Linked DNA regions of Homo sapiens: all the other regions are linked to region 2. The links are contacts of gene promoters, found by promoter capture Hi-C in blood cells and fetal thymus (Javierre and others, 2016). All regions are on one chromosome and are shown on one strand. The core of a region is centred on a gene start or on the middle of the fragment in contact, and the rest is flanking DNA. Distances in the headings are between cores, read along the strand shown. Region 1 overlaps COL19A1 (collagen type XIX alpha 1 chain). Region 2 holds the start of LMBRD1 (LMBR1 domain containing 1). Region 3 overlaps COL19A1 (collagen type XIX alpha 1 chain). Region 4 overlaps COL19A1 (collagen type XIX alpha 1 chain). Region 5 overlaps COL19A1 (collagen type XIX alpha 1 chain). Region 6 overlaps COL19A1 (collagen type XIX alpha 1 chain). Region 7 overlaps COL19A1 (collagen type XIX alpha 1 chain).

What was found. The method cuts DNA at HindIII sites, captures the fragments that hold promoters and counts their contacts. A CHiCAGO score of 5 or more calls a contact.
Region 1: a contact is called between a fragment that was not itself captured here and the fragment with the promoter of LMBRD1 in region 2, in 1 of 17 cell types (total B cells). The highest score is 5.1, in total B cells.
Region 3: a contact is called between a fragment that was not itself captured here and the fragment with the promoter of LMBRD1 in region 2, in 2 of 17 cell types (total B cells and naive B cells). The highest score is 7.3, in total B cells.
Region 4: a contact is called between a fragment that was not itself captured here and the fragment with the promoter of LMBRD1 in region 2, in 1 of 17 cell types (naive B cells). The highest score is 5.4, in naive B cells.
Region 5: a contact is called between a fragment that was not itself captured here and the fragment with the promoter of LMBRD1 in region 2, in 1 of 17 cell types (naive B cells). The highest score is 6.2, in naive B cells.
Region 6: a fragment that was not itself captured here is called in contact with the fragment with the promoter of LMBRD1 in region 2 in 1 of 17 cell types (total B cells); the score reaches 6.2 in total B cells.
Region 7: a contact is called between a fragment that was not itself captured here and the fragment with the promoter of LMBRD1 in region 2, in 1 of 17 cell types (total B cells). The highest score is 7.1, in total B cells.

Annotation. Positions count from the first base shown.
Region 1 is chr6:70,117,103-70,120,697 of GRCh38, reverse strand. The region is part of intron 16 of COL19A1 (collagen type XIX alpha 1 chain); the gene reads right to left. Among named protein-coding and RNA genes, the nearest start is that of COL9A1, 180 kb to the left of the region's middle. The HindIII fragment of the contact is 3,993 bases long and covers 1-3,595 here.
Region 2 is chr6:69,795,446-69,799,101 of GRCh38, reverse strand. It overlaps LMBRD1 (LMBR1 domain containing 1), which reads left to right and starts at 2,092. Exons shown (of 16, transcript NM_018368.4): 1 at 2,092-2,289. The coding sequence starts at 2,221. RefSeq lists enhancers at 2,171-2,400, 2,029-2,584, 2,711-2,760, 2,585-3,141. The HindIII fragment of the contact is 19,066 bases long and covers 1-3,656 here.
Region 3 is chr6:70,174,824-70,178,610 of GRCh38, reverse strand. It overlaps COL19A1 (collagen type XIX alpha 1 chain), which reads right to left. Exons shown (of 51, transcript NM_001858.6): 42 at 2,047-2,091. Among named protein-coding and RNA genes, the nearest start is that of COL9A1, 130 kb to the left of the region's middle. The HindIII fragment of the contact is 1,463 bases long and covers 725-2,187 here.
Region 4 is chr6:70,099,355-70,102,942 of GRCh38, reverse strand. It overlaps COL19A1 (collagen type XIX alpha 1 chain), which reads right to left. Exons shown (of 51, transcript NM_001858.6): 16 at 721-774. Among named protein-coding and RNA genes, the nearest start is that of COL9A1, 200 kb to the left of the region's middle. The HindIII fragment of the contact is 3,579 bases long and covers 226-3,588 here.
Region 5 is chr6:70,158,459-70,162,440 of GRCh38, reverse strand. COL19A1 (collagen type XIX alpha 1 chain) reads right to left here. Exons shown (of 51, transcript NM_001858.6): 35 at 488-541. Among named protein-coding and RNA genes, the nearest start is that of COL9A1, 140 kb to the left of the region's middle. The HindIII fragment of the contact is 4,140 bases long and covers 1-3,366 here.
Region 6 is chr6:70,065,159-70,069,078 of GRCh38, reverse strand. COL19A1 (collagen type XIX alpha 1 chain) reads right to left here. Exons shown (of 51, transcript NM_001858.6): 15 at 603-656. Among named protein-coding and RNA genes, the nearest start is that of COL19A1, 200 kb to the right of the region's middle. The HindIII fragment of the contact is 5,965 bases long and covers 1-3,920 here.
Region 7 is chr6:70,141,058-70,144,699 of GRCh38, reverse strand. COL19A1 (collagen type XIX alpha 1 chain) reads right to left here. Exons shown (of 51, transcript NM_001858.6): 21 at 2,772-2,807; 22 at 2,624-2,677; 23 at 1,880-1,933; 24 at 437-490. Among named protein-coding and RNA genes, the nearest start is that of COL9A1, 160 kb to the left of the region's middle. The HindIII fragment of the contact is 453 bases long and covers 1,026-1,478 here.

The sequences.
Region 1 (3,595 bases), core at 510-3,009, 320 kb before region 2:
AAATAATGGGCCTCACAAGTAATGGTGTTGCCTATGATTGGAAAGACAAACGATGCTGTTACCATGCTGAAACAATAACGGAGCTATTGTAAGAAGAGAATTCTTATGGCATTATATATTTTTCATGCAACTTTTCAGCAGCCAGCATTGTGTAAAGAATTCTAGGTCAGTTAGAGGAAGTAAAGAAAGAAAGCAATCATTGAGTGGGGGGGTTGTTACACAAAGTATCTAGCCAAGAACATGCAAGTTAAGATCTTATTCTTGAAAGTCAGGAGACATGAAGTTCCATACATGTTGATCCTTCTGCAAACATATAATGAGGCAAGGAGGAATTTTAGACACCATATGTAGTAGCATTAAGAGGTGGCTTAGGGGTATATGTATAGTAGGCATTCAGTGAGTGTGTGTTGATGACAAGGCTGATTAGATCAAAGAACAGTGATGAAGTAGGTAAATTTAACTTCATACATATTCAATCTAGTTAAAAGAGAGGGTCTTAATTATTAGAACTCTTAAATATAGCATAAAAATTAATAATACAGTCTCCCAAATAGAGTAGCAGAATCAGTCAAATAATAATAGCAAACTCTTTTTGTTGTTGTTTTTTGAGACAGAGTCTCACTCTGTCACCCAGGCTGGAGTGCAGTGGCACGATCTCAGCTCACTGCAACCTCTGCCTCCCAGGTTCAAGGGATTCTTGTGCCTTAGTCTCCTGAGTAGCTGGGACTACAGGCATGTGCCACCATGCCTGGCTAATTTTTGTATTTTTAGTAGAGGTAGGGTTTCGCCATGTTGGCCAGGCTGGTCTTGAACTCCTGACCTCAAGTGATCCACCTGCCTTGGCTTCCCAAAGTGCTGGTATTACAGGCGTGAGCCAGCGGGCCCGGCCAATAGCAAACATTTATATAGTGCTTATTATGTGCTAGGCATTACAGCAGGAATTAACTAATTTAGTCCTTACAATGACAGGAGGAATGTCCCATCATTCTCTCTGATTCAAAGATAAAGAAAATGAGGGTTGGAAATGTTTAACTGGTCCAAGGTCACACCACTGGTAAGTGGCAGGGCTAATATTTAACATTAGCATTGGGCCCAAAGCCAGTTCTCGTCTACTCTACTATCTTAACTTAAAGGCAAACTCAGCCAAAAATCACTTTTGCAGTAATTTTCTTATCATGATGATGTGTGTACCCTAGAGAATACTGGGTGATCACTCTTCTATGTTCTATTTACTTTACTGAAATTGAAAAAAAATCAACAAAACTTCTACGTAGCACTTCTGCCAGGTACTTCACAGTGCTTGGTGCAGGAGGCGGGAAAGTGAACACATTACCTTTAGCTGTAGTCATACCGTGTAGTTGAGAGAGGCCTCTTTATCTACTCCTTGTATCTCCCATCTATGTTCATACAGTCTCTTAACCCATGTTAGGGAGATTATCCCTGAATATTACAAAACATTTCTCCTAGTCTGTGACTGTATTCAAATGTATCCTATCTTTGTTTGTAGAGGTTGGGAGAGCAGGTGGTCTGAGATACAAGAAGTGTGAAGCCTCCCAAAGGGTTCTGGGAGGCAGTAAGGAAAAGAAGCAAGAAAGCAAATGTGTTGTAGGGTTTGCACAGAATAAAACAGGTAGCAGTGTAAGTGAGAACAGTAAAAAACAATAGAATGATAATGATTTGTAAAAAATTGGGTGAAATGGGATATGATCCTTTACAGACTGGTCATATGCACACAGAAGATAGCTGTATTTCATAAGCAAAGTATATACTTCTCATGCAGGATCCTGATCTGGCTGCTGCTGAGCTTACCACTGGGGGTGGGGTGGGAGAATATGCACGGCTCAGTGCAGCTGCTCCCTCTAAAAACAAAGGCAAGGGCACAACTCACTAAAAACAATGCCAAGAGCAATGAGGCTACAGAAAAGGTTGAACGTTATTATTCAAATATCCACAAGATTAATAAACCCATAAAAATTACTTCTACATTTTCATATGTTCTGCTTTTGTCACAAAATGTCTTATCTTCAAAGTAGTACTCGAAATGGGTTTGATCTGAAGTTTTAGGTTCTACCACTTAATCTCATCATGAGTATTTATGATGACATTTTCTTTCTCACTTTTTTAGTCACTGGGATAGTTTGGGTACCACAAATTGCAAGTTTAATGTGACAGAAATTTACAGCCAACCGTCTACCCTGCAGGCAATACTTTATACAAACTCTCCTAGCGGTCCGAAGGAACCCTTCAGAGACTAGAAAGAGATGCCAATTAGAGTCTTCTGGAAGTCCCCCTCTACTCTGACTATAGTCAGTGAGGCAGTGTCTCACTTGGTTGCTCTAACACTGTCAAAGATAGTGGTCATTAATAAGCTATAAGCATTTAAATTGCAAAAGCAACTCTGTTTACAGTTGGAACACAACCTTGGGGTTTCAGAATTGGTGGCTATCCTACCAGCCACATCCCAAGAGATGTGCTATTTTTCTATCTTCTATTCTGGTATGAAATATGGCTGGAGAAGATCCAAGGAGTTGTCGCCAAGTTTAGCAAGAGTTGTCTATCCTGCAGACTACCAATCAACTCCAAGAAAGAAGTTAAAGACTTGTGGTAAGTGACAGATCTCTCGGCATCACATGGTGGTGTAGATGCTCTAGGGCAGTTGACAGAACCCTTTCTCTGAGGTTTGCATTTACAAGGACCCATCAAAAGACACTTAGATGACCCAGGTCCAGTGGTGAAGAGAGGCCAACTGCAGAGGGCATGTCAGCCTTGGCTTATGCTCTTAGGAGCTCTGCTAGGAAAAGTGGTTAAAGGTTTATGGAAAGGAAAAATGTCCCAATATCTTGCTTATAACAGTGACCCACAACATGATTGTACACAAGTCATGCCTATACAATGTCTGTTTTTTACGGAGATTTGCTTCACTCTATTTGTATGGGATTGGGAGATATAGGACATCTGGATTAATGTGGTGAGTATACAATTACAGAGCAGCTAAAATATGCTAATGAACTCCAGGGAGAAACAACTGTTCTGAACCTAACTGTACTGATTCATAATTATCTGAGAGGCCTATAAACCTGGTGTGGATAGAGATCCTGATGTCGTTTCTTACTGCAAAGAACTACAGCAGGTGTGATAAAGTGAATTAAAGCTATATTCAATTTGGGAAGTATATACTCTCAGCAATAGTTCTAGCAGCTTTTAAATAGTTTTTGGCTTAAATCTTGCTGGAGGTGGAAAACAGAAATACCATGATGTCTGCCACCGGACTTGTCAGACACGTAGTGTAAAAATGATGAGCTATTTGCATTATCATTCCCTTAGTAGATTTCAGTTTTGGCTGCACATTCCCAAAGTTTAAAAGTTGGGAAGAGTTCTCTGTTAAAAACCATAGTCCTTAGTCCTAGTCTTAGCTGCATTTTCACTTTTTAGCCAATTCACCCGGTATACTTAGCCTAAAGAGCAATATTTTTGCCTTTTTTTCCCTGACTGTTCTTTGCCATAAGCTGTCTGTGCAAGTCAGAGCTTGAGCCTTCTGATCCAGCTTTAGCACACTCTGCACATTGTGAATCAGGAGCTCTGTGGCTCCTTAGTC
Region 2 (3,656 bases), core at 843-3,342:
CTGCAATAGCAAATACTTGGAACCAACTGAAATGTCCATCAGTGATAGACTGGATTAAGAAAATGTGGCACATATACACCATGGAATACTATGCAGCCATAAAAAAGGATGAGTTCATGTTCTTTGTAGGGACATGGATGAAGCTGGAAAACATCATTCTCAGCAAACTATTGCAAGGACAGAAAACCAAACACCACATGTTCTCACTCATAGGTGGGAATTGAACAATGAGAACACTTGGACACAGGAAGGGGAACATCACACACTGGGCCCTGTTGTAGGGTGGGGGAAAGTGGGGAGGGATAGCATTAGGAGATATACCTGATGTAAGACTAGTTAATGGGTGCAGCACCTCAACATGGCACATGTATGCATATGTAACAAATCTGCACGTTGTGCACATGTACCCTAGAACTTAAAGTATAATAATAATAATAATAATAATAATAATAATAATAAAAGAGTGTGCCTGGTTATGTCGTTATCTGGTTGGGTGCAGTCTCTATTGATTAGGTGAACATCTGGTCCCTTTTGGCATGATTCCTTTTGAAATGTAAACAGAATCTTTTTCTAAGAAGTAGTTACTTATGTCAAGGGTGCTCTATACAATCTGGAATAGAGATATCAACCTGGAAGCGATACCTCTCTTCACTTTAAGGAAGCTATGACAGAGGTCTCCAGGGATATGAATTATTAGGAAGAAAGAGTGAAATTCAAACATTTGCAGGTCTAGAGGGCTTAAAGCCAGCTTATGATGGTACCAGTTCAAGTTAAAACTGTATTCTCCCCTATTCCCTTCTTATTCTGTCCAGGCAGGAAGGACCATCCTATTTTTTCCCTCAGGCTTCCAGCCGGAAGTAGATTATAGGTAGAGCATAACTCATCACCACATAATACATTGGAAAAAGATGATGGTATTTTTTCTCAGAGTTGTTTCTTGACTACATCACAGTGGTGAAACATGCACTCACACCCCTGTGGACTCAGGTAAGCCATCCCAAGAGTTTCCTCCCTGTGGACTCAGGTAAGCCATCCCAAGAGTTTCCTCCTTCTTCTTCATTGTGGGCCTATGGCAGTGTGTTTTGTTTGCTGATGCATATACCTTTACATACAAAGCTATCATGGAAATTCACAGGCATGCATACATCTGAATAGAAAGGCTATAACATCATGTGATAAGTTCATGTCCAGCCAACCAGTTATCCCGGCTGGGCACCAGTGCCAGTAAATTAGAGTGATTTGGGCAGCTAGTCAACTTTTATTCAGAGTCAGCTGTCTCATGCGTCCGTGTGAAGAGACCACCAAACAGGCTTTGTGTGAGCAACATGGCTGTTTATTTCACATGGGTGCAGGCGGGCTGAGTCCGAAAAGAGAGTCGGCAAAGGGTGGTGGGATTATCATTGGTTCTTACAGTTTTTCGGATAGGAGGTGGAGTGAAGAGCAATGTTTTGGGGGTAGGGGGTAGATCTCACAAAGTACATTCTCAAGGGTGGGGAGAATTACAAAGAAACTTCTTAAGGGTGGGGGAGATTATAAAGAACATTGATCAGTTAGGGTGGGGCAGAAACAAATCACAATGGTGGAATGTCATCAGCTAAGCTATTTTCACTTCTGTGGATCTTCAGTTGCTTCAGGCCAGCTGGATGTATACGTGAAGGTCACTGGGGATATGATGGCTTAGCTTGGGCTCAGAGGCCTGACATCAGCCATTCTTGCAACCTGGTAAGGAGTTCTGCTAATCACACACATTCCACCTTGTACACGAGGGCCAAACTTCCTTTTGGTGAAGAAGTATAAACCTCTAAAATTGACTTGGATCTCCAGGTCCACCTAGCCCATTCTTTGTGGAGTTCCCTTGCTGTTCTAGTCTATCAACTTAGGCTGAGTCAAATATCTCAATAGGTTGCCCAGCTATGAGCCAACACCCTGCTCTGCAGCCCTCCCACATCTCAGCTTGCAGGGAAGCCAGCGAGGGCAGCGTGGTGATGTCACTGCGTCCGCACGCGCCCCGCCCCTGAGCAGTCCTTGCTGCCCCGCCCCCGCTCGGCTCGCCGCCAGGGGACGCTAGTGGGTCCAGTCTCCTTGGCAACCACTTGCTCCTCCCCCTCCGCCCCTTTAACCTTTAGGGTGCGCGGGTGCAGTATATCTCGCGCTCTCTCCCCTTTCCCCCTCCCCTTTCCCCACCCCGGGCGCTCAGGTTGGTCTGGACCGGAAGCGAAGATGGCGACTTCTGGCGCGGCCTCGGCGGAGCTGGTGATCGGCTGGTGCATATTCGGCCTCTTACTACTGGTAGGGGAGGCGCTTGGAGTTTTCCCCATGTTTGGACTGGGGGAGGAAGGGAGGGGCAGGCCCTGCAGTTGGCCTCTCCGGGCCCCGGAGACCCTCTTCGCCCCGCCCCGCTTTTAGCTTGGACTGTGGAGGGCTCCTTAGTGTTGGGGGCTTGGGCGGGCGGCGGGGGCAGGGGGGTGTCGATTTCCGGTCTCTTTTGCTGTCATTTCACCGATGACGTCTAGGGTTGCAGGGTCCTTTTTGGAAGCTCTTGCCGTCATCGCTGACTTGGGCAATGGGGCCGGTGGGGTTTGGGGGCGGAAGAGACCCTCGGGGTTGAGAAGTATGTGGTGGCCTTTCGTCCCCTGTAAAACATTGTCACACGGTGTGGGGCGGCAGCGCTGGATCTTTGCAAGTTAAGTAGGCGCTGGCGTTGTTTACTTGTCACCTTCTCTGTATGTTTTTTCCCTCATTTTCCCTACCCTTGGGGCTAGTGAGTCTCCAACCTCTGTGCCCATTGTGTGATTCTGCCTTGATGACGTGAGTTGCTCGTTCTGACTTCCAGGTGTCACATTCTCTTCTAATCTTTTTTTGATTGGTGTAGATACCTGTGGAGGGCGGAGCTGTAGCCCTCTTTATTACCAGTATCGGAGTATATACTACTACCTGTCTGACCTCAGGTGCTTTCTTTTCCAACGATCTTATTTCTGCATATTCAGTGAGCAAAGTGTAGATAGAAATGTCTCAGAGTGGCCTGGCTATTACTTCCCTGTTCATATTAAAACCCTTTGGTTTATTTGGGAGTTCAATTTATTTCCTTTCATAACTTCTCTACCTTCTCAAATCTTCTCTTTTCTCATCGTCCGAGGCTGTAGTTACTTTCTGTTCTCACGTATTTTGACCTTTTTGCATTGCAAAACAAAAACCTCCAGTTCTGGAAATCAGGCTTGTTTGGTTTTACTTTAATTGTCAGATCCAGTTGGTGTCTGGTACCTATGTAGTATGTTCTAGTAGATTTTTGCAGTAGAGACTAAAAAAAGAAAATAAAAGAAAAGAATGGTGTGAAAATTTAAGAAAAGGATCCTCTTGTTACTGCCATCACTGTCACAGATAAAAACACTGCCTTTACCCTGGAACATGTTAGTCCTCTCTTGGAGGAAATGAAACCCTAAAGGTTGACTGTGGTCTCTGCAGCCACCCAGTCCTGTATTTGGAGAGCCCCCTGGCTTTTCCAGTCCATCAGATTTAGTTTGTTTAGAAAAAAATAAATAAGCATGTAATGTATGAAAGTTACGTGAGACTATCTTGGCAGTTATAAATTAATAAACATTTACGGTACAGAAGTGGTGTGAATTGTAAGAGGATGTAAACCAAACAAAATACGGCTT
Region 3 (3,787 bases), core at 207-2,706, 380 kb before region 2:
TAAACCATTTTTAAGTGCACACTTAAGTGGCACTAAGTGCATTCACACTGTCATCTAGCCATCACCATTGTCTATTTCTAGATTCTTTTAACTATTTTATCTTCTGAGCCGCAGAAGGGCCAGTTATAAAAATCTAACATGCATCTTTAACTGAACATGTTTGTAGTATGTAAATTTTTTACCCTTTCTTATTTATGTAATTGTCAGTCAGTGCTTTTATTTTATTTTATTTTTTGAGACAGGGTCTTGCTCTGTTGCCCAGTTTGGAGTGCAGTGACACGATCTCAGCTCACTGCAACCTTTGCCTCCCATGCTCAAGTGATCCTCCCACCTCAGCCTCCAAGCAGTTGGGACTAAAGGTGCCCAGCTAATTTTTGCACTTTTTGCAGAGACAAGAGTTTTGCCATGTTTCCCAGGTTGGTCTCTAACTCCTGGGCTCAAGTGTTCTGCCCATCTTGGCCTCCCAGAGTGCTGGGATTACATGTGTGAGTCCACTATGCCTAGCCAGTTAATGTTTTTAATTATGACATATGAAAACTGCTTTTTTAGTAAATATATCAGATCTTAGACATCCAACTAAGTGGCAGGCTAGCCCCTTATCTCAATAATGCTTCCTCTTTGAAAAACATATTTGGAATTTCTCATTTGGATTGCCTGTGGCCACTGTTGCACATCTTTTAAATACTTGCAATGGTGGCCAGTATTTTTTCCTAGAAGATAAGCTTAATTTAGGGTAATAGCAAAATGTAATTTGTAGACACACCTGGGTGAACACAATGAAAAAAACTAGACTTTATTTTATCACAAGGAAACAAAAATTCAAATCACAGGATGTGAGTATAAGAGGAACAGGTTGTAAAGGTTCTCTAAGGACACTTCCAGAAACTGATTTCCAAATATGTTGCTGGGAATGGCTGTGAGTGGGGCAGTAGTGAGGGAATAGAATTAAGTGTGTAGTCAACTTTCAAGAATACTTCCTTTTATAAAAAATTTGGAAGAGCTTTCCAAAGAAGATATTTTCATGCTACTTTTACAGTCATACGAATATTTGACTTGATCTATAATGGCTAAGTAAGGGAATGTCATCATCTACGAAGGATGCAGATGATGGATGGGGCTCTATTTTGTGTTGTTAGAAGTTAATGGAGTGAAGTAGAGTGGCTCTGAGCACTTTGTGGGATGGCAGTGGGAGATGAGCAGGGCTTTGGGTGGTGTTGGGTGTCAGTAGATCTCGGTGGGTGACTGTGGGTGGTGATTGTAGGGCCTTTATCTTATCTTATCTTTCTTATATTCTTGTGATACAAGCCCATGGTTTCCATTGACTTTCCTGTAATGTTATCCTGGACCTGCCCTGCAGGAGCACCTAGCAAGAGGATAAATGGCCTCTTATTCATAAAGCGTGACCACAAAATTTTAATTAGAGCATCATGAATGAAGATCAGAATGATCTCTAGGGCTCAGAGAAATAATTTCAACCTTTCCTGGAACACTTCCTATTCATTTGAAAAGGCCTTGATGAGATTAAAACATTTGACACCAGAGAGCAACAAAAATGATTGAGAGGATTGAAGGGCTAGTTTATGAGGAAACATTAGCAGCAATAAAGCTCTGCTAATAACACTGGGCTAAGGAATAACTCAGGCAGATTGCATTAATACAAGGAACTTGAAGTACATGCCTGAGGATAAGAACTCTGTCTTTTGAAGACTGAGAAACCTTGAAATATGACAAGAATAGAGAAACACAATAAACTTTCCAAAGCTGTGCTCATAAATTAATGTATAGTAACTGTGTTTCCTCTCCCCTCCATGAAAGTGACTTGGGAAGAAAATAAAAGAGGACAAAAAACAAAACAAAACAAAAGAAATAGAGGATTGTGGAGGTGGAAAATACAGGTGGCATTATTTATGAAACTAGAATTGTCAGGAACCTAATGCCATGGGAGTTATGGTATGCTCTCCTGCCTGTCTTGATCCCTGGCCACAGGTGTATCATGGAGATAGAACCGTTTACCTGTGAAAATGATGTGAAGTAATCTGAACTCACCGACATCCCTGCTATTCCTGGGGGACCTGCTGGGCCTCGATCTCCCTGTTGGGATTTAAAAACATTGCTACTTTAATGACATCAATGAAGTCTTTAGTTATGAAATTAATTCTCAAATAATAATTTGGATTTGGTAAAGCTTTCCTTTGGATCTGATAAGTGTTATTGATATTAGATGGGGTGAAGCTAGTGTGTAGATGGAAAAATAGCAAACTGAGTAGCTAATTGACAACTGAACTCGTTACAGCTTTTTTATTTTCCATAAAACTAAAGTAAATAATAGTTTTAATGAAAGCAAGCATAATCATTTCTGTGACCTATTTTAATGTCCCCTTACATACTTATAGTTAAATTAGTCAATATTTTTATTCTACATGTTCAAAAGATCATTACTCTTGCTTAAAAGATTAAGCACTTTGAGTGTCTTCCAAAAAGCTTTTCCTATCCTTGTCTCATTGGATATAGAGTTAGAATAAAATGATCTACAACTAATGATTTGTAGTTCTCATTTGGCCAATTAGAAGATCCCTTGAATTGCTCTGAACAACAGAGTGACTCAACTCCTTTTTAAGAGCCAATGTGATATTTTAGATAAAGCTGACAATGCTAAAAATACTAACGACTATATATATGGGATAATAAAATGGCAATTTTTGGGGGCAGAAACTGAATTTAAAAAACTTTACTCAGGGACATAAAAGGCTTGATTTAATGAATGACGAGATATGCTCTGTTCTTGGAGAGCAAGACAATGTTGTAAAGGTGTCATTGCTAACTAAACTAATTTATAAATTTAATGCAATTCTTACAAAATTGCAGTGTGATCAAATGATACTAAAGTTTACTTGGGATAATAACTGAGAGGATAAAAAAATTAAAAGAATAATAATAAAGAGATACTAGTAATACCAACATTTAAACATATAATAAATAAAGCTATAATGGAATATTGGCATAAGATTAAGCAGCATATCAAAATACTATAACAGAAATATCAGAAACAGACCGGCATTTATAATAGGATTTTATTTAACAAACAGTTCTAATAATTGGATAATTTCATTGAAAAAAGTTTGCTTCTTCTCTTTACATTATATCCCATATGAATTCCACATAGATTTATATAAAAATAAAATAATATACATTATAAAAGAGCTCAAAGAATATATTAGTGACATTCTGATTTTGGTTGAAAATAAAAGTAGAAGTCATTTTGTGCATAAAACCAAAACAAGAAATCATAAAGAAATATAGTGTTAGATTTGACTACATTAAGGTTATATTTACAATAAGATTAAACGTAAAAATGAAAGGCAAAGATCAACTAGGATGAAAACTCCAACACATGAGATAGAAGTAATGTCTTTAACGTATGGAGCATAGCCATCATCAAAAAGAAAAAAATAACTGATAGAAAAATGGGTAAAGGACATAAACAGGCAATACACATCAATTTCCCTCTGTTCCTTTTGAATTACAAAATTTTCATTTTTAAAATTAATATACTAGAACTTTTCATTCAATGAAATATTTGCATGTCTCATGCCTCTCATTCCTTAACCACTATTCTCGAATGAACTTACCTCTTATTTTCATAGTTACACCTGACACTTTGTCAGTAAAAATATTTGCTGCCCATCCATAATCTCAATTTCATGCGTTCCAACTTTGGACCACCATTCCACATCATTCTAATTCACTCTTTGAGTACCTTGAACCCCTAAACCCTAATCCATTGATG
Region 4 (3,588 bases), core at 766-3,265, 300 kb before region 2:
CAGAATAGGGAGTTTCAAGGAGAGAGCAGTCAATAGTATACATTTCTGTGTAGCAGTAAAGTAAGAAGAAGCCTGAAAAGTGCTCAGGGAATCTGCAATGCAGAGATTGTTGGTGACCACAGAGAGTGCAGTGTCAGTGGAGCAGCTTGGACACAAACCAGACTCTCATAGGCTGCAGAGTTACCAGAACTACAAGAAATTGAATATTTTTTTTTTCTAGAAGCTTGGGGTAAAGGATCCAGATAAGCTAACTGGTTAGATGATCTTTATAGCACTTTTTACCAAATCATGAAATTATACTAACAAAATAGTTTCATATCAAGAAAAGTGGATATGCTTCCCCAGATGTCTGATTTTCTAACAGCCTGGATGTTAAGAAATCTAGAAGATGGTGTTCAGGTAGGTTCAGAACAGGATTCATCTATCTGGACACTTGGCTTGGGATGTTCAAGCAGACACTACTGTTATTGCCATTTGTGTAATAAAGAAGTGGGTGAGGTGTATGGACAATTACCAGCCTCCCTCATCTCTTGGTTTGTGGTGATGATGGAGTTAGGAATATAGAGAGTATGAACTACTCATCCAAATGCTGAAACCAGTCATTCTAAACAGTAGAATAAAGGAAATCATTATCTACAGGGGAGTAAAATAATCCTTAGGTAAACACACAGACATAAAGACAGACTCTTTAAAGGGACAGTCATTGTATTGTTTACTCACAGGTGGTCCTGGGGGTCCTGGTTTTCCGGGAGGTCCTGTTTTCCCTCGTCTTCCCTTGAAACCAAAGAAGAATAGATGATAAATACTGTGACTCCATTATATTTTAATATCAAACAATATTAAATGGGAATATTGAAGACAGTAAAAATGAACAGAAAGTTAAGAAACAATTCCAATTCCACATGACTTTTAAATATCAATTTTAAAAGCTGTGGGCCAATTTTTAAGGACCATAATGAGAAGTATAGTACCTGAAATGAATAAACCTTAACTTTTATCAGCAGCCCTTTAAATGCTATCTACCTTGGTTCTTTAGCAAAGTAATATAAAGTATATGAAAGATGGTCTAAGATGGGTATTTTATCTGATGATTCTGTGGTTTCGGATGCAATAACAAGTACATCTGTCATCTTATGTTGGTGTTGTCCAAGAGGGGTCTGAATTCTAATTTTGTATGAGTTATTTGAGGGTGAGTTTGGGTGTTAAACATGCATATTCCTGGACTTCATCCTAGAATTCACGGTTTAGAATCCCGGGGGTCGGAGCCACGAATCTGCATTTTTAAAACTACTTCAGATAATTTTTATGCTCACTAAAATTTGGAAAGCACTGCCCTAAGCCCTATTGTAATTACATATACTGAATGAAGCACATTAGCTCTTTTCTTCCCTTTAGATGGTTAAGCTGTTTTTATAAGTGAAGTAAAATGTATAATTCTTGCATGTTAATCTTCATGATTACAACCAAATATTAACTCTCCCAAGTTCACAACTAGCTAAATTCCAATCGCAAGATGTTGTGCTAACCTCTCTAAGTACCCGTGAATCTAATAACATTTAAAAAGCATTTCATTATTTATTATAAAATTATTTTCTTAAACATTTTTTATTTTTTAAATTTTTAAAAGAGGGAAGTGAGCTTAGGTATTGAAAGCATACATTTTGAATGAGAAGCATTTATGAGCATATGTTTTCTAAATATGGTCACTCTATTTCATTGTTACTAACAATTCTATTTGATTATCACATTGGTAAACTGTCTGTACATATTAAGCCTTATTGATACTTATAAAGTAAAGATATTAGGTTGATCTTTTCAATGCTTTTTTGGGGGAGAATTATAAGTGTAGGCACAGAAAGGCCCATTTTATTCACCAATTTTCTTGCTCTGAAAATGTCAGGCAAAGTTGCCTGATTCCTCTGATTTTCATCTAGTCTTGAAGTGGGGTAGGAGGTCTAAATGCCAGTTGAAACAGTAGAGTAAGTTTTCAGAGATAAACAAGCAAATACAATGCTGGGATTGGATGAGAAATGTGTCCATTGTTCCTGAAGGGAAATTAGGTGATACCATCAAAGACTTTATATGAAAACAGCAGCCTTTTCTATAAATAGCCCTAGTTAACATCTACAGAACAGATTTAAAATTTTTTAAAAATTAAAAACATAGGCTAGGCATGGTGGCTCACAACTGTAATCCCAGCACTTTGGGAGGCCGAGGCAGGCGGATCACCTGAGGTCAGGCCAACATGGAGAAACCTCATTTCTACTAAAAATACAAAAAAAATTAGCCAGGCATGGTGGTATGTGCCTGTAATCCCAGCCACTCTGGAGGCAGAATTGCTTGAACACGGGAGAATTGCACTCCAGCCTGGGAGACAGAGACTCTGTCTCAAAAAAAAAAAAAAAAAAAATTAAAAACACAAATATAATTATTAATAGTAGTGTTTTCTCTTATCTTTCATTTTATAGATCTAAACCATGCAGTTCTTTTGGAGGATTGTAAGATTGAAATGAACATATAATTTAATATTCTCTATACTTAAAACAAGTTATACACATGTACACCATGTTCTAGTCTTGCAGTTTACATTTTCTGAAAATCAGTATATTTGGTCTTTTAGTAAATATAAGTAAATTCGCCTCTGAGGACTAATCAATGATAAAAAGTTTACTTAGAAAGTGGAAACACTGTAATTTATTAATTCACAACAACACAAAGAAACTAAATCAATGGTATCTAGGTAAGTGATTGGTTCTTTCCTTAAGCATACATTAGGTTGAGGTAAGTTAAAACCATAGGATCAACTTTAGTTTACATTCCCCTTTCTTCAAAGGAGTCATGTATATTGATTTGGGCAGGAAGCGGGGAAAATGAAGCTGACTGTTGATTAACTTTTATCGCAGAGTTAATGTTGAAACAAACCAAATGTCAGATATTGTAACATAACATTGGCATGTGTTAAGATGAGGAGTAAAAAGCATCCAAGATTCAGGATATGGTGAGGGCAAGCATCCAGATTCCTGCACTTCACTGCTGATTTCAGCCAGCCTTGCCATTGTCAGAGTGTCAGAGTGTCAGTGTGCATGCTGGAAGAGGGCAGAGAGAAGGCTGATTTTGCCGAGTGGACATGCAGGTAAAATATTTTTGGGGGTTGCTAAGTAATTGGAACATATTGTGTGCACACAACTTTGGCCAGCACATATTTTCACATTAAATGTAGTTTCTAGGCTTGAATTTCTATTAGCACCTTAAATCAGATTTGAACAATTTTTAAAGATGTGCTATACAAAGCAGTGCAGTTACCTTTTTGTTAGGCTTACCACCAAATACATACAGGTTGATTATCATCTGTCCCAAAGTGCTTGGAACCAGAAGTGTTTTGTAATTTTTTTTTTGTTTTGGAATATTTGCATATACATAATGATATATCTTGGGGATGGGCCCCAAGTCTAAACATAAAATTCATTTATGTTTCATATATACCTTATCCACATAGTCTGAAAGTAATTTTATGCACTATTTTAAATAATTTTGTGCATAAAACAAAATTGTGACTGTGTTTTGGCTGCAACCTGTCATGTGAGGTCA
Region 5 (3,982 bases), core at 47-2,546, 360 kb before region 2:
CACGAAGGCTTTGATGGTGTGTTTGAGGGGCAGTGAAAGCCTTGACTAAAATAGAGGTATTTTATTTTATACATAGGAACAAAAATAAATGAAATCTGATAATCCTTAGCACACTTTTTTTTCCTTTAGAAAATAAATTCTCAGTTTGTGGTGCCATTTGACTATCTCTTCTAAAGGTTAGTGCCAAAAAATTATAAATAAAAAATAGAATGCTCTTTTATATGCAATTTCTATTTCAAACACACTAGCTTAATCGCAGACTGCTTTCTGGTCTGGTGGAATTCTGAGGCAAGTCCCCAGGACACTGAGTAGCCTTAAGTAATACTAAATGAAAATCTGAGAGCTTGGATGAGGCTACTTTTCCAGGCAATATCTGGACAATCTACATAGAGGCACAGAGAACAAAAGGCAATGAAGAAAATTAATTCACCTTGCATCAAACCAGCAGATATAAGCTGTGAGTGCAATCGTTTTAACAAATACTTACAGGGGGTCCAGTCGGGCCTGGAGCACCTGGAATGCCTGGAATTCCTTGAAGACCCTGGAAAAGATAGTTCCCATCATAAAATCTGTTATATCATTGGGAAGAAGGCATTTTAGTTAATCAAATATTTTGACCATTGAACATTAAACACTTATTTAGCTAATCGAGAAACATAATGTTTGTCATATACAAATATACTTTTTTAATTCTAATTTTTTAATTTCAAAAATAAAAATTTTTCTTTAGGGGTGCAAGTGATTTTCGGTTATGTGGATAAATTGTATAATGGTGAAGTCTGCGATTTTAGTGCACCCATCACCCAAGTAGTGTACACTGTACCCAATAGGTAGTTTTTCATCCTTCACACCTCGCCTATACTCCTCACTTCTGGGCCTCCAACGTCCATTATATCACTCTGTATGCTTTTGCGTACTCATAGCTTAGCCCTCACTTATAAGTAAGAATATGTGTGAATACTCAGTTTTAAAGAGTAAGAAGGGTGAGCTAAAATGCCATGACATGGAATCTGAAGCAAACATAATTTAATCTGGTGATTCATAGAGCATTTCTTATTTTATAGGGCCACTCCGTCAGCAGTAGTATCTAAGAATCTCGTACTGGTAAAACATGGAAATACAAATTTTAGATTGGCAGAATGCCATTGAAGAAATAGATGATTACACTTAAGCTCCATTCAGCTAGGGAAAAATGGAATATGTTTTATGATATAATATTTATTTTAGCTTGTCAGTTTATTATAAGAAGAAATTTGGCTCACTGGTGAATTTAAATTTGGAACGCTTTAATGGCTTAAGCATAATAATGAATAGATTTCCCCTCCCTCCCCTCCTTAGATTTGTAGAATAGCACTAATTATACCGGATAGGATTTAAGATGCTGATACATTTATATATCAAGGAAGAAATGGTAAGATTAGCTAACTTATGTAATTAGTTTTGTTACTTTGATACATTTGCCAACAACAGAATATTGTTAGATAAATTACATACAATTTATAACATGAAATATTTTGCAATTATTAAAATCATGTTTTAAAAAAGTTAGAAAACATGTAAAAATAAAGTCACAAATCTTATATAGCACAGGGTCTAAATTTTTAAACAATTTTAAATGTACTTCCTAAAAGATGGGAATGATACATACAGGCTTTTATTATTTTATCACGACAAATAGATAAGTTTTATCAGAAACTTTAGTGTTAGATGTGTTTTAGAATTCTGGATTATCACTTCATTTCACAGGTAACATGATATACATACTGAATATTATATCACACTGCAGTGGTGCCTGAGGCAGTGCCCTCTAATAAACACACAAATATTTCTGTGGCAAAACATGATATTCTGACAGAGTGGAATAGACAAGCTCCGTGTGAGTTAGGCCAGATTGGGCTGCCAAATGAATTTGCTTGGGAAACAAAGCCAAACTTGGGAAACATTTCCAGGGTTTTCAGAGGCTTTGGTTTTGGAATTTATAGATGAGGTGTTGTTGATATGATTTGGCTCTGAGTCTCTACCCAAATCTCATCTCAAACTGTAATCCCCACATGTAGAGGGAGGGAGGTGATTGGATCATGGGGGTGGTTTTCCCCATGCTGTTCTCATGATAGTGAGTAAGTTCTCAGGAGATCTGATGGTTTTGTAAGTGTTTGGAAGTTCCTCCTTTGCTCTCTCTCCTGCTGCCTCGTAAAGGTGCTTGCCTCCTCTTCACCTTCTGTCATGATTGTAAGTTTCCTGAGGCCTCCCCAGCCACGTGGAGCTGTGGGTCAATTAAACCTCTTTCTTTTATAAATTACCCAGTCTCAGGAAAGTTCTTTATAGCAGTGTGAAAATGGACTAATAGAGTTGTGGACCATGACATTACTATTGCCAGAAGTCCCTCCTGGGTAGTGGGAATAGGGAGAAATTTTATCTTTTAGTGCATTTTTGTATTTTCCCAATTTTCAATAGTGGACTGAGATCACTTCTATTATGAGAAAAAACTATTTTAAAATATGCTTTTGTTATTTCAGATAACCATGTGATACATCAAGTTCTAGACTGAATGATTCCATTCTTTCAGGATTTAGTCTCCTTTACTGAGTAAAATATTCTTTCTGGATTGCCATACCATTCTTTGTCATCATACAATTCCTTTACCTTTTACTATTATGATATATGCATTTTCATATACTTTATAAATATTAGATGATGTGGCCATGGAAACATTACTGCATATTGATTATCAGCATTCTATAGGACTGTGAGCTGGATCAAGTTTCTTTGCATCAGTGGGATCAAGGACCAAGTTCTTCTAGGTTTGTCCATTCAATGCCAAATGGCATCATGTGTTACTTCAGGTCTATTCATGTGATATGATATGAAGAAGGGCTTAAAAATTCTACTTGAACATGCTAGAATTCCTCATAAGTCTTGGGCCAAATCTTGTGTGTATTGGTGTTAAAGAATGTTGACATATTTTTCTTCAAAATTTTATCAATCTCATTGGCAGTGCTGTGTGTGTGTGTGTGTGTATGTGTATGTGTGTATACATGGGCATGTGTGCATGTGCAGGCTCTACATATCGGTATGTGGTACTCATTCTTTTTATTCCCCTAACATTAACTTGTATGCAGGTTTATAGATGCAAAGTAAAAAAATTTTCATTGATAATGGCACCTCTAAATGACTGGAGATTATAAATGTTATACCATAAATTTCTTTACCTCAAAATACCCATATTTCCATAAAATTCTTTCTATATGTACATGCATAAAATATACGTATATATGTATTCCTTTTTTTTTTTTGCTACTTTTAGTCTCAACACTGAATCAGTCCAGAGATGTTGAGTGAGTTTTTAGATAGTCTAATTTATAAGCTTGGGATTCATTAACCTTTGATGACCACATTAAACTTTAAAATAAACCTCAGTCCATAAATAAAAAATCATTCCCATCAGCCTTTCTCTGAAAAAGCTGAAATTCTGTAGTAAAAGTGAAAGTTACTATGGATGCATAAAGGGCAATAAGATAATTTTAGAAGACAAGATGATCATTAAAGAAGACAAATACATATTAAAGAGTAGGACAGTCAATTTAACATACAGTGCCAAACTAAAATACAAATTAAAATTTATTGCAGAGATATTTGGAGACCATTGGAGCTATGTTCTTACCCTGCTCTGATATTTCATTTTGCAAATCCTAGCCCAGTTGCTACCAAGAATATTTTCTGTTGCTATAATATCTGGCTGATGATATTTTTCATGTCTAATTTATCAATTATTATCCCAAGATATTATAGGAAGACCTGCATTTCAAGCAAGAAATCACTCCATCAAAGGTTAGCATGTGTTCTATTAGCATCTTCCAAGTTGCTACCTTGAGCTGTGCAACAACGTCTGTGAAAAATGTGGAAGAAAATGTTGCTTTTCTAAGAGTAACAAACAAGCAGGCAACTCCTCTCTCTCATTTTCCAAACAGATGAAAGACATAAT
Region 6 (3,920 bases), core at 581-3,080, 270 kb before region 2:
AAAACACAAGAATGGGGTCCCCACTGCTCATATGAAGCTGACCAGTTGTCATAACACTGCAGGGCTTCGTTTTACTGTGGAATGATGAAATTGAACTGCACTAGAAATAGGAGGTTATTGCTCTACTACCAATTCCAACGATGATTTATTTGCTTACTATTTTGTCTCAGTTAAAGGCAATAAATGGCAATGAAAGGAGAGTTATGAAAAGCCAGTGAAGTCAATAATTTAATTTGGATAAAGAATGTAGTTAATATCCACAACCTTTATGGAATTAATAAATAGGCTAGACCTCCACAAAGATACTCATCAACTTAATTCAAAAACTAAAAGTATGACCAAAGTAGTGTAGATCAAATTAGGGCTAATTCATTTTATCCAAACAATATCTCTACACTTGTGCTGCCAATCTTGAAAAATATAGAATTTTCTGAATTGCAAAACCTCTGTCAAAATCTCGAATCTCAAATTTCAGCCTTTGGATAATTGATACTCTCCATATGCCCATCTGCTTGCTCTATTTCGGTTTCATTTTCATTAGTGTTCCCAAATAAGTATCCCCTAAGTTAGTAATGCCCACCAGTTGTTCCAGCTTTACTTACCCTCTGACCCTCTTTTCCAGGTGGACCTTGGGGGCCTTGTATCCCCAGGGAACCCTATGAGGAAAAAGAGACACATGTTAATACACTGTTTCAAGTACACCTGCCTCACAAAGAATGTTGTGAAAATTAATAATTATTTTGTTGATTAAAACAAACTTTTAAAGTAATTTGAGCTCTTTCAAGGTTGAACTATATAATATATTAATAATGATGAATTGCCCTTCTTTGACTGGCTTCTTTGTAGCTAACTCCAGAAAGAAAAAAAGGCAGACCCACACCAGGTGTGAGACCAAATGTTCACCGCCAGTGAAGAATCTCATATGATTGGAACCATGTTTCAACAAACCACCATAAATAAGTGGTAACAATATTTGCAAGCAGAAAAAGATACCTCTTTATACATTTAAACTCTATAAATAAAATTATATTTTTGGTTGAGAGTAGCTTTTAAAGTATATTCTAAGGAAATGCATGATTATGGTGTTGGCTTCAAACATGCCTACTCATAACATTGAACTTTTAATATTAAAAATATTATTTACTGCTTTCTTGTAATAATATAAAGTGGTAGGGAAAATAAACATTCTTTTTTTTTCAGATCATAACAAAGTCCTAGGAAATCCCAGGTATTAATCTGAAAGTCAAGTCTCCTGATTCTTATTTTAGACAGAAATTCTTACTCCACATGAAATTAAAAATGATGATATTGCCATTCAAAAAAAACTTCAGCAGTTATGACTACTTCTTTCCTGCTGCTTCTTTCTTCCCTAATCAACCATTAAATGCGGGAGATTTTTGTCTCATTTTCTTCTCAGTCCACATTCTCTCACATTGATCTCACACATCTGTGGGCTTTGGATTCTCTAGACCAGCAATTCCCAGATCTACAACTCCAGTTTATCTCTGAGCTGCATTCAGACCCACGACGTGCTTGATGGAACCACTGCTACCTCACAGGCATCCACAGTTTACCCCATCAAATGCTGAACTCAGGATCCTCCCTCCAGAACTGGATCCTCTTCCACCATGCCCCAAATCAATAAATCCATACCACACTCTCTTCATGCTCATGCCAGAAATCTAGAACTCATTCTCCACATTCAACTCTCTTAAACTTCTCTCTCACATACAGTTACAAAATCTTGTTGGCTTTATCTACAAGATACGTTTGGATTCATCCATTTCTCTCCACTCCTGCTGCTCCCATATTCTTGCTCATCTGTAAGAGCTTCCTAGTTGAAGCTACACATTCCTCCATCCATTCACATCACAGCCAAACTGATCTTAAGAAAACCAGGCTTGATCTTCCCTGATGTACCACTTGGAGACAATGCCTTGTTTCAGTCTCCTAGTGCCTTGCACTTTTTCTCTCAAGTACTTACCACTAATTCATTTAAGTGATTATTCATGTAATGATTTGTTACTCTCACCAGGCTCTAATCTATAACAGAATCTATATTTTATTCATCACGGTATGTGCCTGTTACTGGCCAAATGACAATTCACATGGGGAACTCATCCACTCCAATAAAAGTTTTTGGATAAAGGCAGTAATTTTCAAAAAGTTTTCCAAATATTTATAATTCACCCATCATCTATTAAATGCCTTAAATGGTTTGAAATAAATGAAAAATCTGATAATACAAATGCAAATAAATGTAAATTTATTCCCCTTATTCCAGAAGAAATTCTTTTGTTATCTAATTTAAAAATAATTAACATTCATTTTTATAATATGACCTTTTTCTAAAAAGTGATGGCTACGTTGAAACTAAAAGGCCAGATGTACTTATCATGATCCATAGTTACTTATTATGTATATATTCATTTTTAATTTTTTTCATATAAACTAAATTTTCTTTTATATATATATAGTTTTATTATACTTTAAGTTCTAGGGTACATGTGCACAACGTGCAGGTTTGTTACATATGTATACATGTGCCATGTTGGTGTGCTGCACCCATTAACTCATTATTTACATTAGGTATATCTCCCAATGCTATCCCTCCCCACTCCCCCCACCCCACAACAGGACCCAGGTGTGATGTTCCCCTTCCTGTGTCCATGTGTTCTCATTGCTCAATTCCCACCTATGAGTGAGAACATGTGGTGTTTGTTTTTTTGTCCTTGTGATAGTTTGCTGAGAATGATGGTTTCCAGCTTCATCCATATCCCTACAAAGGACATGAACTCATCCTTTTTTATGGCTGCATAGTATTCCATGGTGTATATGTGCCACATTTTCTTAATCCAGTCTATCACTGTTGGACATTTGGGTTGGTTCCAAGTCTTTGCTATTGTGAGCAGTGCTGCAATAAACATACGTGTGCATGTGTCTTTATAGCAGCATGAATTATATTCCTTTGGGTATATACCCAGTAATGGTATGGCTGGGTCAAATGGTATTTCTAGTTCTAGATCCCTGAGGAATCGCTGCATTGTCTTCCACAATGGTTGAACTAGTTTACAGTCCCACCAACAGTGTAAAAGTGTTCCTATTTCTCCACATCCTCTCCAGCACCTGACTTTTTAATGATTGCCATTCTAACTGGTGTGAGATAATATCTCATTGTGGTTTTGATTTGCATTTCTCTGATGGCCAGTGATGATGAGCATTTTTTCATGTGTCTGTTGGCTGCATAAATATCTTCTTTTGAGAAGTGTCTGTACATACCCTTTGCCCACTTTTTGATGGGGTTGTTTGTTTTTTTCTTGTAAATTTGTTTGAGTTCTTTGTAGATTCTGGATATTAGCCCTTTGTCAGATAAGTAGACTGCAAAAATTTTCTCCCATTCTGTAGGTTGCCTGTTCACTCTGATGGCAGTTTCTTTTGCTGTGCAGAAGCTCTTTAGTTTAATTAGATCCCATTTGTCAATTTTGGCTTTTGTTGCCATTGCTTTTGGTGTTTTAGACATGAAGTCCTTGCCCATGCCTATATCCTGAATGGTATTGCCTAGGTTTTCTTCTAGGGTTTTTATGGTTTTAGGTCTAACATTTAAGTCTTTAATCCATCTTGAATTAATTTTTATGTAAGGTGTAAGGAAGGGACCCAGTTTCAGCTTTCTACATACGGCTAGCCCGTTTTCCCAGCACCATTTGTTAAATAGGGAATCCTTTCCCCATTTCTTGTTTTTGTCAGGTTTGTCAAAGATCAGATAGTTGTAGATGTGTGGTATTATTTCTGAGGGCTCTGTTCTGTTCCGTTGGTCTATATCTCTGTTTTGGTACCAGTATCATGCTGTTTTGGTTACTGTAGCCTTGTAGTAGAGTCTGAAGTTAGGTAGCATGATGCCTCCAGCTTTGTTCTTTTGGCTT
Region 7 (3,642 bases), core at 3-2,502, 350 kb before region 2:
CAGTATCATGAAACATATGCATGTGTATGCACAAAAGGGCATATCTATTAATAAATTTCTATAGACGATCTTTATGTTTTCTTTAAGTTATTCTCCAATAATGGTTCAACGTTAATGCACTGTTTCCATGTAGATATCAAGAAACAGATCCTGCAAGATTAAGAGACTTCTTAGGTTTATACCAGGATTGGTAACTGAGCTTGACTTTCAGACTCCTGATATCTTCATCTGTCAGTTCATTTTGTCACATGGCATTCCTGTGCCAGAACCAGGGCTGCCAAATGCACAACTCTAGGGGGTGCCATTTACATTGTAGTTAATGTGCACAATCTGTACAATCCCAGAAGCCCTGGGCTGTCCTTTCATCTCCCTTATGATCCTCTGTCTCTTCCTCCTATCTACTTAACATATAAAATGAGGAAAATGTAAACTATACCTTTTCTCCTTTAATGCCTTGTTTTCCTGGGATACCATGTTCTCCTGGCAATCCCTAGAAAACTCAGAGTTAATAGGAAAGAGTAATGAGAACATCTCTTACAATAACATTTCCCTATATCTGTGAATCTCTGTCAAGAGAACAGAATTTTAACATATAACCTATTAATAGAAGGAGTTGGATTGATTTTGGCCTTTAAGACCTGGAAAAATATTAGTGATTCTACGTGGTTTGTTGTTTCAAGTGAAGCCACCTGGATGCCATAGGAAAGAAACTAAAGTCGAATTGAACCGAACGTCTCACCCATATTATTGCCATCGAGGAAGGATGGTGGTTGGCAGCATCACATAATGATTCCAAAGAACTCTAGGGCAACTAGAAAAATATATTTTTACTATGTTTTAGAAACAGTGGCTCTTTCCCTTTAGATTTTGTTCTTTTTATAGCTCTGGCCACTATCACTTAGTCTCAGTTTTTGAGCATTGTGGCTCCACTTGTGCCACCAGGATTATCTCTCTTTTCATAAGATCTGTCCACTAGGTTTATCTACAGTGGCCCATTACTTGGCATAGGGGAGTGATCAAAAGCTTTGCTCTATAAACTGGGTGTTCAAAGTACCAAGCAGAATATGTGCACCGACTAGTAGACAGGAGAGGCTCAAGCGGTGAGCATGGAGAATAGAATGTGAGGTTAAGGGGCTGTTCCCAGGGCATGAAAAAAGGAGAGATCCTAAGAGTTGCCTGGAGGGAACTCTAATCATAGTCAGATAGTGATCAGTCTCCAAGGAGTTATGGCCAAGGATTTTTCTTATTTTGCTCAAGTGTGAACTGATGGAGAGCTCGCAGCTCCCAAGTTGTCAGAAGGCTAGAAAGTTGTCCAAGGAACAAAAAGCTGATCCGGATAATGAATAGAAAGGTGTATTGAGTATTTTAAGTCCACTAAAGCTAGGTTATAATGCAATCTGTCGATCTTCCTCCAGACATACTTTTAGCCAAAAGACTTGCTTTTTTTGGAAGGCTTTTGCTAGAAAATGATAGAAGCTTTCGAAATGTCTTCCTTAGATGGAGACTTGAACTAAAAACTGTGAATATTGAAAATGTTTGCTTTCTCTTTTGGTGTTCTTTATTTCTTTTGACATTTCCAATCTCCTCTACTGCTGGTACAGCACTGACAAGCATGTCCAAAATGACAATTTGATTAACTTGAGCTCCAAAAACCAATTTATTAGGCTAATGATACTCAAAAGGACCTCACATGATTATATGAAGGGTCTAGTCTTCCCAATAGCTCCTGACATTAGGTATGATCAGTTTTTGTGGCATAGATGACCCATGTCTTTGGGAAATGAGGGATAACTCAGTTACTTGAACACATGTTGATGTTTTTAAAAACATGTCCTAGTCTCAATTTCAATTCCAGAAATATCAAAGACATTATACATACAACATCTCCTGGCGGTCCTCTGGGTCCCATGGAGCCTGCAGATCCTTGCTGACCCTAAAATAAAAGGTGGTATATACTTTAGCTTTGCTAAAAAAGAAAAAAAAAGATAGATTGTACCTGAGTATTTGTAAAGAATAGTGTGATCTTCATGTATAGGAAGACCAACTTTCCACCATCCCACTTTCCCACTTTATCTGTATAATACTGAAATGTGCTTTGTGATTACCAAGATAGTTTCCAGATACTTTTAATTTATGTGTTCTCACCAGCAGGTGATACCTGGTAACTTGCCCTACCCATTGTCTGGGAGTACACCACATTAATTTCTCCTGCATTTTCCAAAAGCTGCTCTCTTGGGACACTCCTGTGGAATCCCACTTGGGAAACTCAAGCAACTCAACGTTGCATAATTTTGGTTTAGAAACTGAAACTTGAATTCTGTTCCTTTTAGAATATAGCTCAAGGTCGTAGATTTAGCTCACATTGTTTACTCTTAAGGCTTTTAGGGATGCTATTGTGAATATGCTCTGAAAAAGAGTATAGAAATCCTATTGTGAAAACCAAAAGACAGTTACTATGCGTGTAATAAATGCAGCCAGTGGGGAAAATCACCATGGAAACAGGATAAAGTCTTGGAGAGCATTTGTGAAGAAAATGAGTGGCATACCAAAGCACCATGTTTTACACAGAATGGCTACAATTCCCAAATTATTTCCCAAGAAATCTTAGTTATTTCTTATATACCTTTAGTCCTGGGCTTCCTATTAAACCAGGGGGTCCGGGATCTCCAGGTTCACCCTAAACACGTGGGGGGAAGGAAAGATCAATGTTTCTTTAATTTTCATAATCTCATTAAGGTTGGAGAGGAAATTGAAGAATGCCAGGAAATTACCTTTACTCCCTGTGATCCTATTACCCCAGGTTCTCCCTGTAAATAAAATAATTACTATAAGGGTAATGCTTAAATTCAGATGGAAATGGACATCTCTGATACTTTAATTGAATTTCTACTAATTAACATACAATAAAAAGGGAAATTATGGAAGACACAATAAAATCAAGGAGAGTTCATTCTAAAACATGATTCAAAATACTTACTACTAATAAATAATACTTTCTTGATTTCTTCATTATAATAATTTTTCCCCCAATGCCATTTTTGACACTAATTATCATGTCCCATTAGCAATCACTGCATTCTCTACTTAGCTGACATAGTTATAATTTGACACCAACTAATCTCATGTCCCAGAGAATTAAAACTTCAGAGAAAGAATGAGGGAGAGTAGAATTTAAGGTAATATGTGTTGGTGATTCTACTTTTAGTTATATGTGCTTAATGGTTAGTTATATGTGCTTAATGAAAAAAATCACAACAAAATTAAGGTTATACAAAAGAGGATGATACTGGCTATAATAAGTTTGCTTTTTAAATTTTCTGTGACTTATTAATATATTTGATAAATCCACTTTGTGCCATTAACAGAATTTTTGGAAAAAAATGTATCTTTTATTTTAATTTTATATTTTTGATATCCTACATGGATGTCTTGTATAACATTCATGTCCAATCACTATTAGTAACTGGTTAAACAATGTATTAGAAAACTCAAACCAATGTTGAAGTCTCCTTGCATGACAACAGTTAACAAGGCTTAAAATTTCTTATTTATCAAAATAAAAGAGTTAAAAATCACAGAGGAAAAAGTAAAATGCTCATGGACCTTATTTAATCAAATCTATTAGACTCCAAAGTAAACATA